4 separate regions of the Homo sapiens genome follow, and regions 1, 3 and 4 are each linked to region 2. The links are contacts of gene promoters, found by promoter capture Hi-C in blood cells and fetal thymus (Javierre and others, 2016). All regions are on one chromosome and are shown on one strand. Each heading gives the region's core, a stretch centred on a gene start or on the middle of the fragment in contact. The rest is flanking DNA. Distances are from core to core; before and after follow the strand shown.

Evidence for each region. The method cuts DNA at HindIII sites, captures the fragments that hold promoters and counts their contacts. A CHiCAGO score of 5 or more calls a contact.
Region 1: a fragment that was not itself captured here is called in contact with the fragment with the promoter of DARS2 in region 2 in 11 of 17 cell types (naive CD4 T cells, naive CD8 T cells, naive B cells and 8 more); the score reaches 18.9 in naive CD4 T cells.
Region 3: a contact is called between a fragment that was not itself captured here and the fragment with the promoter of DARS2 in region 2, in 3 of 17 cell types (total B cells, naive B cells and naive CD8 T cells). The highest score is 16.1, in total B cells.
Region 4: a contact is called between a fragment that was not itself captured here and the fragment with the promoter of DARS2 in region 2, in 7 of 17 cell types (naive CD4 T cells, naive B cells, naive CD8 T cells and 4 more). The highest score is 12.1, in naive CD4 T cells.

What each region holds. Positions count from the first base shown.
Region 1 is chr1:172,751,839-172,755,726 of GRCh38, forward strand. No RefSeq gene overlaps it. Among named protein-coding and RNA genes, the nearest start is that of FASLG, 95 kb to the left of the region's middle. The HindIII fragment of the contact is 2,826 bases long and covers 1,203-3,888 here.
Region 2 is chr1:173,823,168-173,826,913 of GRCh38, forward strand. DARS2 (aspartyl-tRNA synthetase 2, mitochondrial) reads left to right here and starts at 1,506. Exons shown (of 17, transcript NM_018122.5): 1 at 1,506-2,189; 2 at 3,520-3,619. The coding sequence starts at 2,063. CENPL (centromere protein L) reads right to left here and starts at 1,716. Exons shown (of 6, transcript NM_001387287.1): 1 at 1,045-1,716; 2 at 759-852. RefSeq lists enhancers at 993-1,232, 1,210-1,728, 1,463-2,022, 1,729-2,246, 2,888-3,401. The HindIII fragment of the contact is 2,471 bases long and covers 1,403-3,746 here.
Region 3 is chr1:172,813,796-172,817,972 of GRCh38, forward strand. LOC107985225 (a long non-coding RNA gene) reads right to left here and starts at 3,902. Exons shown (of 3, transcript XR_001738297.2): 1 at 3,758-3,902; 2 at 3,419-3,552; 3 at 1,763-2,333. The HindIII fragment of the contact is 152 bases long and covers 2,720-2,871 here.
Region 4 is chr1:172,775,942-172,779,743 of GRCh38, forward strand. No RefSeq gene overlaps it. Among named protein-coding and RNA genes, the nearest start is that of FASLG, 120 kb to the left of the region's middle. The HindIII fragment of the contact is 1,739 bases long and covers 1,319-3,057 here.

The sequences.
Region 1 (3,888 bases), core at 1,366-3,865, 1.1 Mb before region 2:
TTGTCCCTTTGATATCCCACATGTCTGGTACTTGGATTCTTAGATCTGCAGCTGTGATGCTTTAACTCTCATGCCCTGTTTCACAATTTATTGACTTCATTTAATAGTTGAGAGAAAATGAGGACTGAAAGTGATTTATCAGATGGGATATTTCTTCTATTTACCTCATTCCTGCCATCTATATCTCATTACGAAATATGGAAAGTAAAGAAATACAATGTGAAATATCAAAATGTATTATAAGGAAAATCTCTTTAAACTATATGGTCAATAAAATCAGTAACAACAACAAAAAGATCTCACAATGACATGAGCTTTGAAAAGCTATTGGATGTTACTGAATACTTTTCATCTTATTGATCAAAACATCCTCCTGAAAGAATAAGTTTCTTTGAAATCAGAAAATTAAGCCAGAAAATTCATTCTTCCTGTTCCATTCCACTTATTTCACAAACATTTCTTTTCTCATTGTCTAGACACAAAGAGCCGCTGTTAGAGGATTCTGAGGAGTTTAAACTGCTGAGAATTTGATCACATAACTGTTTGGAATTACCACAACTCCGAGGTGTATCAGGGATTGTTATACGTCTTGAAGAGACAAGGAAACTGAGGCACAGAAAATGAAAAATGACTTGTTAAAGTCATCTATCTATTAATTGTCAACAGCAGAATTAGAATTCTACGTTTCCGAACTTCTATCCAATTGTCTTTTAAAAGGGCAGGCACGGCCAGGTGCGGTGGCTCATGCCTGTAATCCCAGCACTTCGGGAGGCTGAGGTGGGTGGATCATGAGGTCAGGAGATCGAGACCATCCTGGCTAACATGGTGAAACTCTGTCTCTACTAAAAATACAAAAAAAAAAATTAGCCAGGTGTGGTGGCCGGCGCCTGTAGTCCCAGCTACTCGGAAGGCTGAGACAGGAGAATGGCGTGAACCGGGAAGGCAGAGCTTGCAGTGAGCTGAGATCATGCCACTGCACTCCAGCCTGGGGGACAGAGCGAGACTCCGTCAAAAAAAAAAAAGGGCAGGCGCAAATCCATATTTATAGTAAAGTAACTTTCGCAGATTGTGCCTCTATAGTCTCCTTTTCAAAATTTTTTTTTCAGTTTTTCTAAAACCAGCTATTTATTCACTATGAATTCATTTCCCCCCGCCCCAGGAAGAGCACTAGCCATCAGTTCTAACTTGGAAAGCTGAGCCTAAGCTTGCTCTCTTTGGTCATTCTGGAGCAGTTGGTGCAGACTTTAGTTTTCCTCCAGTGAAAATAGAATTCATTTCAGATGAATTGTCTATTTCTTCAAGAAATTCCTGTGTAACTTTGCTAAGTATTTATTGAGCAGGTGCTATATGTAGAACCTTGCACTTCCACTCATTTGGAGGACTGGGATGTATAACTTAAGCTATTCTTAAGGGCTTTTAAGCCAAACAGACATCCTGGTCTTTTTCCTGGGAAAGGAACTACAGAGTTTCCAGACACAGTGATCTGAAACACTTCCGAGACATAAGCTGCTTTTGAGAGATGGCCTCGTAGAAAGAAAAGTTGACCTACTCTTTCAACACATTGTCTGCAAGTCTGTTTTTGTTCATTCCAATCACTTCATGTGAGCAAAGGATGAACTGAATTCTTGTCCTCTAGGAATAATTGTTTAAATAAAGAAGGTTTTATTGTTTTTTCTTTTCCTCTTCCTTTCTTCCTTCTTTTCTCTCATTATTTTATTTTTCCCAAGAATGTTAATTGAGGTTAGAACCAAAGAACAGAGATAGGATATGAATAAAACATGGTTTTTGCCCGAAGGAGATAGACATGTCATAAGTTACAATGTAATATTTTTTTCTGTAATAAGGATATCTGTAAAATTTAATGGCAGCACAAAGCATGAGTGCTTAACTACCAAGGGTAATTAGGTGAGTCTTTATACTGTAGGTGAAATCTAAACAGGGTCTTGGAGAATGAATAAAAGTTTGACAGGTGAGTTATTTATATTGGTAAATTAAAAATTTAATGTACCCCAAGAACTAAGTGACAGAAGCCACATAAACAAAACCATTTTTCTTATTACCTTAATTAAACTTGGGGGAAAAGAAAACTAAGGTTGAGAACTAGAAAATGATAGAGAAGCCCAACTCCAACTCTAAAATGTGGCCTTTAAGAAATTGGCCAGAGATCCTGAGCTGCCAACGGTTCTACCAAGCATTTCCTGCTTCTAGGTGATCTGAAGTTTCTGGTGGGAGGTCTTTAGAGCTAGTGTCTGGCTCTCTATCAAATATCGCTTTCCTAGCCATCAGAGGGGCCCCAACTACTCAAAACTGAAATTGTTACTTAAACCACAGCTTTGACTACTCAGCCCCCCAAGTCTCCAGTCATACTTTACTTGTTAATTATCTCTACTCCCACACAGAACCTGCCTTTTTCTGCTGGGTGATGCCAGTAAACTCACCTCTGACTAGGATTAGGTTATATGGGAGGTCAAAGCCCTATGGGATTTTTAGAATGTTTAGTAGAGTATTAAAGCATCCTTGGGGGCTGCCCCTCATAGATGTGCCAATGTGACCTATCCCCATCCTAACTCCTCACATAAACATGGTGGCTTTCTTCTAAAGTTCACTTGCGGTAAATGGTTGTGAATAAGTACACAACTAAAATGAACTATTTACTAGCTAATTTTTGGAGACATTTTACTTTTAGGACAAAAAGCCAAATGACAAAATAAAACTTCTAGGGGATCAATCCAGTTTTAGTTCAATCTCCCCAATCTTCTATTCTACATCTATTTTCCATATATGTAATTATAAATAATTAGGCTGACAACCTAAAAAAAAGATTGTTGATTGTTTTGTACTTGTGAATGCCAAAAACATTAGAGCAATAAAAATTAAAACAGTGTATACCTGTGTAACAAATCTGCATGTTCTGCACATGTATCCTGGAACTTAAAGTAAAATTAAAAAAAAAAAAAAAAAAGGAAGTGACTGCAGATTAACCACAGAATTAACTTGAAAATTCTCTTCTCTATGTGTTCGGGTTCATTGATTTCTTTCTGTGAAACTTCATGTATTCTGTTTTCTTAAACTAAAAAGGAGTTTTAAAAGAATTGTTTTACATGTCCAAGAAGAAAATGTAGTCAATGAAAAATAGGAATCACATTCTAATTTTAATTTAACTCATTGCTTAATATTCATTGGATAATTTTTGTTTCCTTATACCTGATCACTGCACACTTTTTATTTCAAAATGAACAGAAGGAAAATAGCCACGAAAATAAATGCTCAGGCTCAGTTACAAATTCTATCTGCATTCAGCTGGTGACTTTAGATAGGGTTGAGAATCGAAATCACTTACGGAGCTTTGTAAAAATCGTACTCTTTTTTCCACTCCCTGACATTTTTATTCACTGGATCTGGGTGCCGTCTGGACGTATTTATTTTGGAGATGCATTCTGTATGATTTTGATGCTTTCCCATTTTGAGAACTACCAGTTTAAATTATTTTCGTTTTAGTCTTTGTGTCCTCTATTGTACCTTCTCTAATTTGCCGCTTACTGTTTATTGAGCAATTTGTATTTCCTTATATGTATTACTTCACACCTCCTTATTCCAAAATGAACATGGAAAATTCAGAAGAGATGACTAGCAATATCTAGATAGCAATATCTAGATATCCAGTAGTTCCCAGTCAGTTAGTTAGAGCTCAGCATAGGGTTCCCTGGAGAAGGCAGAGACCCAAGAAAAATGGGAAAGTCTTGTATATTCAGAGACCTGGGTAGGAGTGTATAGACCGGGTAGCTCATGGGGATGCAGGAGCTGTGTCAAGGGTGTTTCTGGAAGGTTGGAAAGGGCCAGCTGTTTTCTAGCTACCCCTTTTCTCAGGAACAAAGCAGGGGATCATGA
Region 2 (3,746 bases), core at 256-2,755:
GTCACCACTTTTATCATTACCTTGCTTGAGATCCCATAACAGTTCCCACACATCTATATGAAGTCAAATCAGAATTCCTGTCTGGCTTTCAAGGCACTACTGTATTTGATCTTATTATCTGATCCTATCCAGGTTCATTTTCTACTACTTCAGTTCTTCCCCAAGATCCATCGACATTAGCCTTTCCAAAATCCAACATTCTGCATACACTTCCTCTAAGGTTTTGTATACAACATTGGGGGGTGGGGGGATGGGAGTGAAGAAAGTTCCAGTAGACAATTCTTTAAGAGGTTAAATGACAGCCCTATACCCAAACATGCACCCCCTACTCTAGACAGATGATCACTCTACTGTTCTCCCTGCCTTTTTATTCACCTTATCGCCAATTAAAAACACTTCTCTACTCCCGTTTGTCTCAGTAAATCTTATCCATTTTCCATGTGCCATCTCCTCAGAAGTTTTCCTGAGCTTGGCAGGGCTAGTTCTCTTGACAATTCCACTTGCAGTTGTGGTTCACAGCACACAAGTAAAGCTTTGTTGTTTCTCTTGTGATTAGTCCGTGAAGGGGCTCTGACTTGATCACTTTTCTACATTGCCACCAATACCTAAATCCAACCGCCCCAATGCCAATACTTAGCCAGTGTTAAGCACGTAGTGTTTAAACACACCTCAACACGCAAGTATTGTAAGATAATGACCACACAACAGGGCAAATACAAAGTTAAAGCAGGTCCGGGACCAATACAAAGCATCTTTACCAATAAAATGCCGTGATGACGCTGTCACCCATTCCGGATTCACGAATCATTCTTCAAAAGTCCGGCTCCAAAACTATGTGGAGACTGAAATCCCCTGAAGAAAAAAAAAAAAAACCGCCAAAATGACAGCTAAGACAGAGGCCAGACTAACCCCTGGCCCTCCCAAATTCCCTCTCGCTCCACAAGTGGGTTCACAAGAGACACAAACGCACCCAGGAAGACCTCCGCTCCCTCAGACGCGGGGCGGGCCCTGCGACTTCACTCTGGGAGGGACATTTCCGCTCACCCAGCTCTGCGACCCTCGCTCCTGCGGAGTCAGCTTCTGCTCGCGGAGGGGGAAGGGCAAAAGGACAGTGCGTCCCAACCCGTCCCTCTCCAGCTGAGCCTGTCAGAGACCAGCCCAGCTCTGAAATCAAGCCGTTGAGAAAAGGGAATTCGGCCCTCCGCCGCCTCTTCAGTTTAAAATCGTTTCCCGACTCGCTCTGCGGCCCCACGCAGGAAGCCTCCTTGGCGCCTCGCCGATTCCGTATCAGTGAAGCAACTAAAATTGCCATTTTAACTGAGGGCAAGGCCGAGCCACTTAACCACTATCGTCAACCTTTCCAATCGTGCTCGGTTGCTCCTCAGTTTTCCTACCGGTGCGAAGCTTTCTCTCAAATTTCCGCCCGTAGTAGGCATGGCGGCGGCACCTCACCACTGATTCGTTGAATTCCTTCCCGGTAATCTTGGGCACTAGCGGGCGGAGTTGAAGGGCGCTTGGACCCCAGCGGCGATCTGTGTTTGGGTTCGCGCTCTGGGAGAATTTTGGCTTTGCTCGCCTTCCTCTTTCAGAAGACTCGAAATCGGCCAGCAGGTCTGCGAGATTTGAAACGCGACTGTTACTCCTTGTTTTCCGGTTCTGGCCGCGGGAGCCTCTCGAGAAGCGTGGAAAGAGGAGAAGGGCGTATACCTTGTGACCGCCTCTGGTTGTCTTGGGCTCGCGCCTGGCGCCGCTACGTGGAGTCGCTCTCTCGTCGTCACTTTTGGCTGCCGACTTGTTGAGTAGAAGTGCAGACTGATGCTTTAAGACTCAGGGAGAGGTCTTTCCCTTATCTCCACCCCAGCAAGCACCCCAGAGACCTTGGAGATTTGTCTTGTTTCTAGACACGTGTACTCCAATGTTGTGCGGAGGAGGCCTTAAATATTCGAGAAGAGAGTGGGAACTCCTGGAATTTTAAGGGATTTCTGTGTATTTCCAAAACTGACTTTTAACTACCGGCAGCGTGGGATTTCGTGATTGTTTTTCGCCATCGTGTGGCTCCAACATGTACTTCCCTTCTTGGTTAAGTCAGCTGTACAGGGGTTTATCCAGACCCATCAGAAGGACCACCCAACCGATCTGGGGTTCTCTCTACAGAAGTCTGTTGCAGAGTTCACAGAGGAGAATTCCAGGTGAAAATAGCGAAGAGATCTATCCTATGAACAGTACTTCAGCCTGTTATCTACGGCCGGAGAGCTTTTATTCCATTTTTCATTTTTTCCCCCATTATTATTATTATTATTATTATTATTATTATTATTTGAGACGGAGTCTCGCTCTGCTGCCCAGGCTAGAGTGAAGTGGCGCGATCTCCGCTCACTGCAAGCTCCGCCTCCCGGGTTCACGCCATTCTCCTGCCTCAGCCTCCCGAGTAGCTGGGACTACAGGCGCCCGCGACCACGCCCGGCTAATTTTTCTGTATTTTTGGTAGAGCCGGGGTTTCACTGTGTTAGCCAGGATGGTCTCGATCTCCTGACCTCGTGATCCACCCGCCTCCGCCTCCCATAGTGCTGGGATTACAGGCGTGAGCCACCGCGCCCGGCTTTTCCCCTGTTCTTAACTGGATAGCCTTATGTGTAGAAGCGAAATTCACTCTCATTATATTCATTATACGGCAGTTTTTTTTCCCTGAGTTTTTAGAAAGACCACAAAAAGGTAACCACGTAATATATAGAATACTCTGCTTTTGGTTGATGCCTTAAAAAAATCCTTCTTCGGCCGGGCGCGGTGGCTCACGTCGTTAATCCCAGCACTTTGGGAGGTCGAGGAGGGCGGATCACGAGGTCAGGAGATCGAGACCATCCTGGCTAACACGGTGAAACCCCGTCTCTACTAAAAATAAAAAAAAAATTAGCCGGGCGTGGTGGCGGGCGCCTGTAGTCCCCGCTGCTGGGGAGGCCGAGGCAGGAGAATGGCGTGAACCTCGGAGGCGGAGCTTGCAGTGAGCCGAGATCGCGCCACTGCACTCCAGCCTGGGCGACAGAGCGAGACTCCATCTCAAAAAAAAAAAAAAATCATTTTTCACAGAATTATAATAGTGTTTTCTAGTGTACAAGTGGCTGTTAAACACTAGATTCATACTAAAGCTAAATAGTTCCTACACCGTCCATTTCTGCAGTTTCTAAAATCCTATTTCATTTGAGGAAGAAATGTGCAATATTAAGAATTGGGTAATTAGGATTTTAGGTCAATGCAAATGCTAGAAGATCAAAAAAATTTTGATTTCCTAACACAAGACAGAAATTTACATTCAGTTATTCACTTGGCTTTTGACACATTTGCAGGTAAATTTAATAGTGAATGAATTAAATTACATACTCTGACTTATTTTATTTTATAAATTTCCCCTGTAGCCCTGACATACCTAAGATATATTTTGAGAATTTTCATTTTTAAGCAACCTGCAAGTGATGTATTTTTAATCTTGCCTTTTAAAGTTTCTTTTTTTTTTTTTTTTTAAAGAATTCAGTAGCTTTGTTGTCCGGACCAACACATGTGGAGAGTTGCGTTCGTCTCACTTAGGCCAAGAAGTCACCTTGTGTGGATGGATTCAGTACCGAAGGTAAATTGAGAAAGACAGTCTAAGAATGCATGGTGGTGGTTTTCCCAGGGCAATTCCAAACCTTTACTAATTTACAACCAGTCCGAAGAATAAAACGTTTTGCAACTCCTGCAGGATTAAGAACTTA
Region 3 (4,177 bases), core at 1,546-4,045, 1.0 Mb before region 2:
TAACTCAAAAGGTCAAGTCCAAAGTCTCATCTGAGACAAGGCAAATCCCTTCCATCTAGGAGCCTGTAAAATCAAATGCAAGTTAGTTACTTGGTTTTGGTACAGGCATTGGGTAAATACACACATTGGGGTACAGGGCATTGCATAAATACACACATTCAAAAAAATTGGCCAAAACAAAGGGGCTACAGCCCCTGTGCAAATCCAAAATCCAAAAGGGCAGTCATTAAACCTTAAAGTTCCAAAATGATCTCCTTTGACTCTATGTCTCACATCCAGGGGACACTTATGCAAGGTGGGCTCCCACAGCCTTGGGCAGCTTTGCCCCTGTGGCTTTTCAGGGTACAGCCCATTTCCAGGCTGCTTTCCTGGGCTGGCATTGAGTTTCTGTGGCTTTTCCAGGTGCATGGTGTGAGCTGTTAGTGGATCTACCATTCTGTGGTCTGGAGGATGGTGGCCTTCTTCTCACAGCTCCATCAGGCAGTGTCACCGTGGGGTCTCTGTGGGGGCTCTAACCCTACATTTCCCTTCTGCATTACCCTAGCAAAAGTTCTCCATGAGGGCTCTGCTTCTGCAGCAAACTTCTGCCTAAACATTCAAGTATTTCCATACATCCTCTGAAATCTAGGCAGAGGTTCCCAAACCTCAATTCTTGACTTCTATGCACCCACAGGCCCAACACTATGTATAAGGTGCCAAGGCTTGGGGCTTGAGCCCTCTGAAACAATGGCCTGAGCTGTACATTGTCCCCTTTTAGCCACAGCTAGAGCTGAAGCAGCTGGGGTGCAGGGCACCATGTCCTGAGGCTGCATTGAGCAAGGGGGCCCGGGGCCCAGCCCATGAAACCATTTTTCCCTCCTAGGCCTCCGGGCCTGTGATGGGAGGGGCTGCTGTGTCTCTTATATGCTCTGGAGACATTTTCCCCATTGTCTTGGTGATTATGCAAATTTCCACTACTGGCTTGAATTTCTCCCCAGAAAATGAGGTTTTCTTTTCTATCACATCATCAGGCTGCAAATTTTCCAAATTTTTATGCTCTGCATCCTCTTAAATGCTTTGCCACTTAGGAATTTCTTTCACCAGATACTCTAAGTCATCTCTCTCAAGTTCAACGTTTCACAGATCTCTAGGGCAGAACCAAAAGATGCTGCCGGTCTCTTTGCCTAGCAAGAGTGACCTTTATTCCCATTCCTAAAAAGTTCCTCATCTCCATCTGAGAGCACTTCAGCCTGCATTTTATTGTCCATATCACTATCAGTATTTTGGTCAAAGCCATTCAACAAGTCTAGGGAGCTCCAAACATTTTCACATTTTTCTTTCTGCTTCTGAGCCTCCAAACTGTTTCAACCTCTGCCCAGATCCAAAGTCACTTCCACATTTTTGGGTTTCTTTACAGCAGCACCCCACTCTCTGTGGTACCAATTTACTGTATTAGTCTGTTCTAACACTGCTAGTTAAGACATACCTGAGACTGGGAAATTTGTAAAGGAAAGAGGTTTAATTGACTCACAGTTCAACATGGCTGGGGAGGCCTCAGGGAACTTACAATCATGGTGGAAGGGAAAGCAAACACATCCTTCTTCACATGGCGGCAGCATGGAGAAGTATGAAAGCTGAGTGAAGGGAGAAGCCCTTATAAAACCATCAGATCTCATGAGAACTTAATCACTGTCATGACAATAGCATGGAAGAACTACCCCATGATTCAATTACCTCTCACCAGATCCCTAGGACTCTTAAACTGTTTATTTTTCTTCACGCTTTTTTTTCTTTTTGTTCCTCAGACTGGACAATATCAAACTCAATTTCACCATGTACTTAACTTTACTTATGCTCTTTATTTCTTTGTGTGGATTCAAGTTACTCTCTAGTGTTGTTTAATTTTGCCTGAAGAATTCCCTATACTATTTCTTGTGAGGGAGATCTGCTAGCAGTAAATTTTCTCAGTTTTTGTTTATCTGAGAATGTCTTAAACTCCCCTTCACTTCTGAAAGAAAATTTTGCTCAATATAGAATTTTTGTGTGAGATTCTTTTTCTTTTAGCACTTTAAATATGTCATCCAACTTTTTTGGCCTTCTTAGTTTCAGATCATATGTCAGCTGTTCATTTCATTGCAGATCCCTTGTATGTGATGAATCATTTTTGCTGGCTGCTTTTGGGATTCATTTTTATCTTTGACAGTTTGACTAATACATGTGTAGGTGTGTACCTCTTTCAGCTTATTCTACTTGGAGTTGTTGAGCTTTTTTGATGTGTAGATTAAGATTTTCATCAGTTTGGGACATTTTCTGCCATTATTTTTTCACATACCAATATATGTACCATGGGAGTCCTAGAAGGAGAGGAGAGAGAAACAAAAGGACATAAAGAATATATATGTCCTAAGAATTTTCAATACCATTTACTAACTATTAGATAGAAGTAATAGTTTTTTCTCCCCCTTATTAATCTCTTTTTTCTTCTACTTAATCATTAAGAAATATCGCCTTTTATAATAGTCACTAATATGTGACTATTTATAATCAAAAATAATATGAGAATCAATCATATGCAAGTTGATATAATACGACACAATTTGCCAGAGAGAAGTTATACAGAAGGAGGAAATAAGAAGAAGAAGAGCAAGTTGAGTGTTCTATGGTTTTGTCAGCTTTGTCCCTTCCAATTTGCTAAAGCTTATGTGGTTTCCTTTACTATAGTGAATATGTGAGGGGAAGAAGCTTGAAACAAGGAGGTCCTGTTATATGCCAATATTGATCTATAAAAACTCTAGATGAAGCTGAAAAAGTTCTGGGGTAAAATCCAAGGACACAAGTAATAGACATTTAAGAATCATTACATTTTCTTTCTAAGTAAGAATGTAGAAGTCAAGCTTTATATAATTCAAGAGGAGCAGAAAGGTAAGAATAACCTAGAGAGAAGAGCAAGGAAGTGGGATTCTAGGAGAAAAGGTTTTTTGTTTGTTTGTTTGTTTGTTTGTTTGTTTTTTGGCAGGAGGTGTGACAAAAATGGAAAAGAGAAAGTAAAAAATATGGGTAACCCCACAAGAAAAGCAAATACAAAGGTCAAATCGGGTGAGTAAGAATAAGTGCATGAAATAAAGAGGGATGAACAAACGGGGTGGGGAATTTTCAGGGTAGGAGAAAAAGATGGGAACTTTGAAAAAAGTGGGAATAAGGGAGAAAAGGGTATTAGTACTGAGCTTTGAAGGAATGGTTGAGGGAATTATAGAAGGTCAAATGATGGAAATGGGTGCAGCTTGAGAGAAAAAAAGAGTTACTGGGTTAGGATGACAAGAAAGGCAAAGTGATGAGGCTTTGCCTTTGACTCTTGGACTGTGTTTAATGAAGCTAAAAGCACACACTTGTTAGGTTATAAAGTGAGGTAAAGAACTATCGAGGGAGAGAGACTGAGTACCTGATGTCAATTCTTATTACAGTTCTTTAAGATTTCTGTTTTATCAAAGGATCTCACTTTCTTCCCACCTCATTCTACAATGTAGTAGTATTCTAACACTCATGCACATCAAGGTACTTGTGGGAGAGAATATCCTGTAAGAAAAACATATACAACCTATAGATTTCTGATTCATAGCACATGAGGAGTTCATTAAAAACACACAGAAAATAACAAGACAAAAAACTTTGGACACCCCCCTCCCGAAGCTCATTCATGGGTCCCATCCTTTAATCTCACCAATTTACATAAATATGAAACACCTGACCAAGTTTTCAAGTAATTTGTCACTCATCTTACCTCCTAAGGAAGACTATGTTTTCATTTAACAACAAATAGGCCAGGTGCAGTAGCTTATACCAGTAATCCCTTTAGAACGCCAAGGTAGGAGGATCGCTTGAGGCCAGGAGTTTGAGACCAGCCTAACATACAAGGACCTTTGATTCTGCAAAAGATAAAAAGCATTAGCTGGGCATGGTGGTGCTCACCTATAGTCCTAGCTATCCAGGATGCTGAGGCAAAAGGATCATTTGAGCAAAGGAGTTCAAGGTTACAATGAGCTGTGATCGCATCACTGCATTCCAGTATGGGTGACAGTTCTTGCTCACAAGAACCTGTCTTTATAAAACAAATGAACAACTTAACAACAAATACTTGTTAACAGATATTTAATTTACTATGTGCCAGATATGTACTCCAGGCACCTGAACAACATGAAAA
Region 4 (3,802 bases), core at 938-3,437, 1.0 Mb before region 2:
AGTGAAGATAGAGAAACAAGATGGAAGTGGGGGAGAAAAACAGGGATGAGAGAATGCCATGGTGGTGCTGAGAAGGAAAGGAGAGACTTTTCTGCTTGTAAAGGGCAGAAGATGGCAGAATCCAGTGACGCAGGGGCATCTGGCTCCAGAAATAATAGGTCACTTGGCACCCACTTCTTCAAAACAGTGAGCTTCATGAACATTCTTATTTATTTGACGTGGATATTGCATGCCTGGTAGATGTGTTCCACAAGAAATTCTTGGTGGGAGTCAACCTAATCACAGTGAAGGAATAGTCTTTGAGAGAAGGGCTTTACTTACTTGACAGCTATCTGCTTTTATTTGAGAAGCTAAGATGGGAGGATTCGGATTACGTATTGCCAGTTGCATTCTTTGTTTCTCTTTTGAAATATGAGAATTGACTCGGACTGTGCAAACTATTTTCTTCTCATTTCTTTATTACCACATATTTAACGTGTGTCAACAAGCTGACTCTTAATTGGCTGGCTCAAGTACAGCGACAGGATTCTATAGGAAGGGGGAGCAAAGCCATAAGCAAACTTAAACATTTCTTGATGCCATTATAGCTCTCAATGGCCATCTTATACTAATGCCTATTTCTCTACATCACACACACACACACCCGCCCCCACATTCAGCACTTTATATTATAAAGTGGCAAAAACCACAATTACTTTTGCACCAACCTAATAGTAACTCACTACATGTAAGGAGATTGTGGAGATGCAAACTTCTCTTCCCTTTACCTTACTGGCTTCTTTCTAATAAGCTGAACTTGGGTGTGAGGGTAGTCAGAGAGAGGCAAGGTTACTCTAATTTTCCATTTGCAGGATATCTATGTTTGAAAGAAGACAATTCAAATGCTGGCTTTACCCATGCAGCGACAAACAATTTTTACTCTTACTTTTATGGGCTTCAGAGAGGCTACACAATCTCTCAGAAGTCCCTGCTGACTGTGATTTTTAAAGGAATGTTATTTTGGAAGTGAAGTGACTGAGAAGTAACTATAATCTTCAGGGGTAGAGAAACAGAAAAGATATGAGGTTGGCATAATAGTCTTGGGAAGATAGAATAAGACAAAGAAGAGCTTATAGTTTTAGAGCTGAACTCAGGTTGGATCTTTTATCTGATAACATTTTAAATATTCAGTGTTATTCTCTATCATTACAAATAGCCAGAAAATAATTTTGTTTTCATAAGGAAGTGATTTAAAAAGGAAGAATTTAGGGAAAAAATTACAAGAAATGATTCTCAGTGAGGGTTGGCTACTTGAAAGTTATCAAAGTAGGCTTCAGAAAGCTTAACTGTCATGTATCCATCAAAGAGTGAGAGGAATTAATGAATTCTACATGAATTCAGTATGTTCTACAAACATAGGAAGATCTAAATTTAGTGTTGTATGAATATTTTTTCATTTAAGAATTGTTACCAGTTACCTCATGATTGGTACACTGGGTTAAGCATTAAAAGATCTGAAATTGGGAGGAAGAAAGAAAGAGAGTAATGTATCTGGAGCCATGACAAAGAAAGTTTTTAAAACAATTGCTTATTTATCCTTAATTCATCGTAATAACCATTACTGTTCTCAAACCTAAAAAAAAATCACTTCTGCCATTTTGCTTCCTCTTCGACCTTTTATCTTCCTTTTCTTGTACTCATATGTAAAATATTTCTGTGACAACTTGAGTAGTAGTTAATCTGCTTATGCCATTCTGGACAGACACAAAGAGATGGTGTCCCCATGTGTGGGAATTACTCCCAGTGCAGCGGGAATGAAATTAAACTACAATCTCAAGTCCTCTGAAGAAGTCCCTGAAGAGTACAGCCCCTGGTTAAAATCCATGTGTGAATTTTCAGGCCTGACCATAGGCAATTACAATGGCTTTACCTGGCAGGCCTCGTGGGGAAATCTGCCTTTCCCTCACCAGACTTTATAGCCAATGCACTGCAGCCTCAGGAGAGAGTGGCAGTCAAGGACTCAGGTCCCCCAGCCAATCATGCTCTTTCACATATTTACCTTCGTAACCCAGGAACCTTCATTCCAAGGTCTCTGACACCTCCGACAGAGACCTTCTTCAGGTTCCTCTGCTGAAACCTTCTTATGCAGGAGGAGGGAAAAACCTTGAAGACATGTTTCCACATTCTGACCCAATACTCAGGAATTTTCCCCACCCCTAGCCCTTCTCCTCTTCTCTCCCCAGCACTCCTCTTCTCATATCTATGATGATCCATCTGACTCTTAATTGGTGTGCCTTTCTTTTGGGAAAAATGGAACAGGGGGAGTCAGTGCCTCCGCCAGTTTTAGCCTCTTGCTTATGCCATTGCAGCATGTGATTAAAAGCTGAATCCTGTCATTTTTACTGGTTGTTTTAATAGGCTGCGCTGATACCTGGCCACTCAGCTCTCTCTCTCTCTCTCTCTCTCTCTCTCTCTCTCTCTCTCTCAGCTGAGTTCCTGACAGTCCCAGCTTTGCCTCTTACTGGTTGTGTGACCTTAGGCAAATCATTTAATGTTTCTCAGCTTCATTTTATCATATGTAAATTTAGGACAATAATACTCGATGAAGTTCTTATGTGGATTATATGAGGTGCTTGTGAAAAATACCTTACCTGGTAAATTGCGACTCAATTCTTAATCAGAAACAGAAACAGAAACAGTGGGTCACTAACCTAGGGTCCTCTAGGGAGAACTTGCACTTACATATTTTCCTGCAATGCCTTGGATTACATCATATGGCAAAGTCCTTTTATGTGTAAATGCCAGCTGTGAGGGTAATCACTTGTTAGTGTCTGTTTGCTTTCTTTGTTACCATTTTCTGGTTAATTCTGGAAGGAAAAATTTTTTGTCTTCTTGTCAGTATTTTTCTTTTATTTTGATGCTTTTTGTCAGATATGTTTCCCCCTAAGAGCTGACATTGATGTTGTATGGTGCATATGTTAATGTGGCAATGAGATATTGCAGTGAGATTACAGCTCCACAAGGGGGTACATAAATGACAGTCTCCAAACAGAAACCAGCATAGCTGCCAAAAAGGAAAGCTTCAAGATTCTCGGCTTCATTTTTCAGTTATGTTATTAGAATAAACACGTTCTCTAATGGCAGAAGGTACCTCAGATAAGGATCTATAGGTGATGTAGGATATCACTCAGCTACTCACAGACCTAAACAAGGCAACATTTCCCAAGATTATAATTTATCTGTGAAAGGTACTAGAAATGACTATATTTATCGCCCCATATCATCCCTTACAATCTCAGATGTCAGGGAAAAGCCCAAGGTCAGAAACCCAGATTGTGCTCATGTCTGTCAGGCAGAAGCTCTAGCATGAGCTCATAGGTATCTAGAAAACTTTGCGCAAACTGGGACAGAGCAGGCTACTTTCCTTTAAGCCAAACATCGTAAGGAGGCTTTTTGCTAAGTTTATTGTTAGATTTATTCCATTTTGAGTTTATTTTTAAGTGGTATTGCATTTGAGGTTGGTGCTAAGTAGCTCTCAATAATTCTCTGATCTTGATGTTGGCTTGCCTCACCATATGAAGACTGAGTCTGAGAAGAGGGAGATCTCAGTTCATGGGTCAGAAAATTGACTATTTCCATCACATGTGAGACATTTAGGTTCTGAGGGAAGAGGTGAACTTTTTCCAGTTCTGGCAAAGTTTTATTTAGACCAATGAGCTCATGCTAGAGAGTCTTTCGTGACAAATATGAGTACCATCTGGATTCCTGACATTAGCCTTGTTCCTCATCTCTGAGATAACCATCAAAACAAGCAAGTGCTACC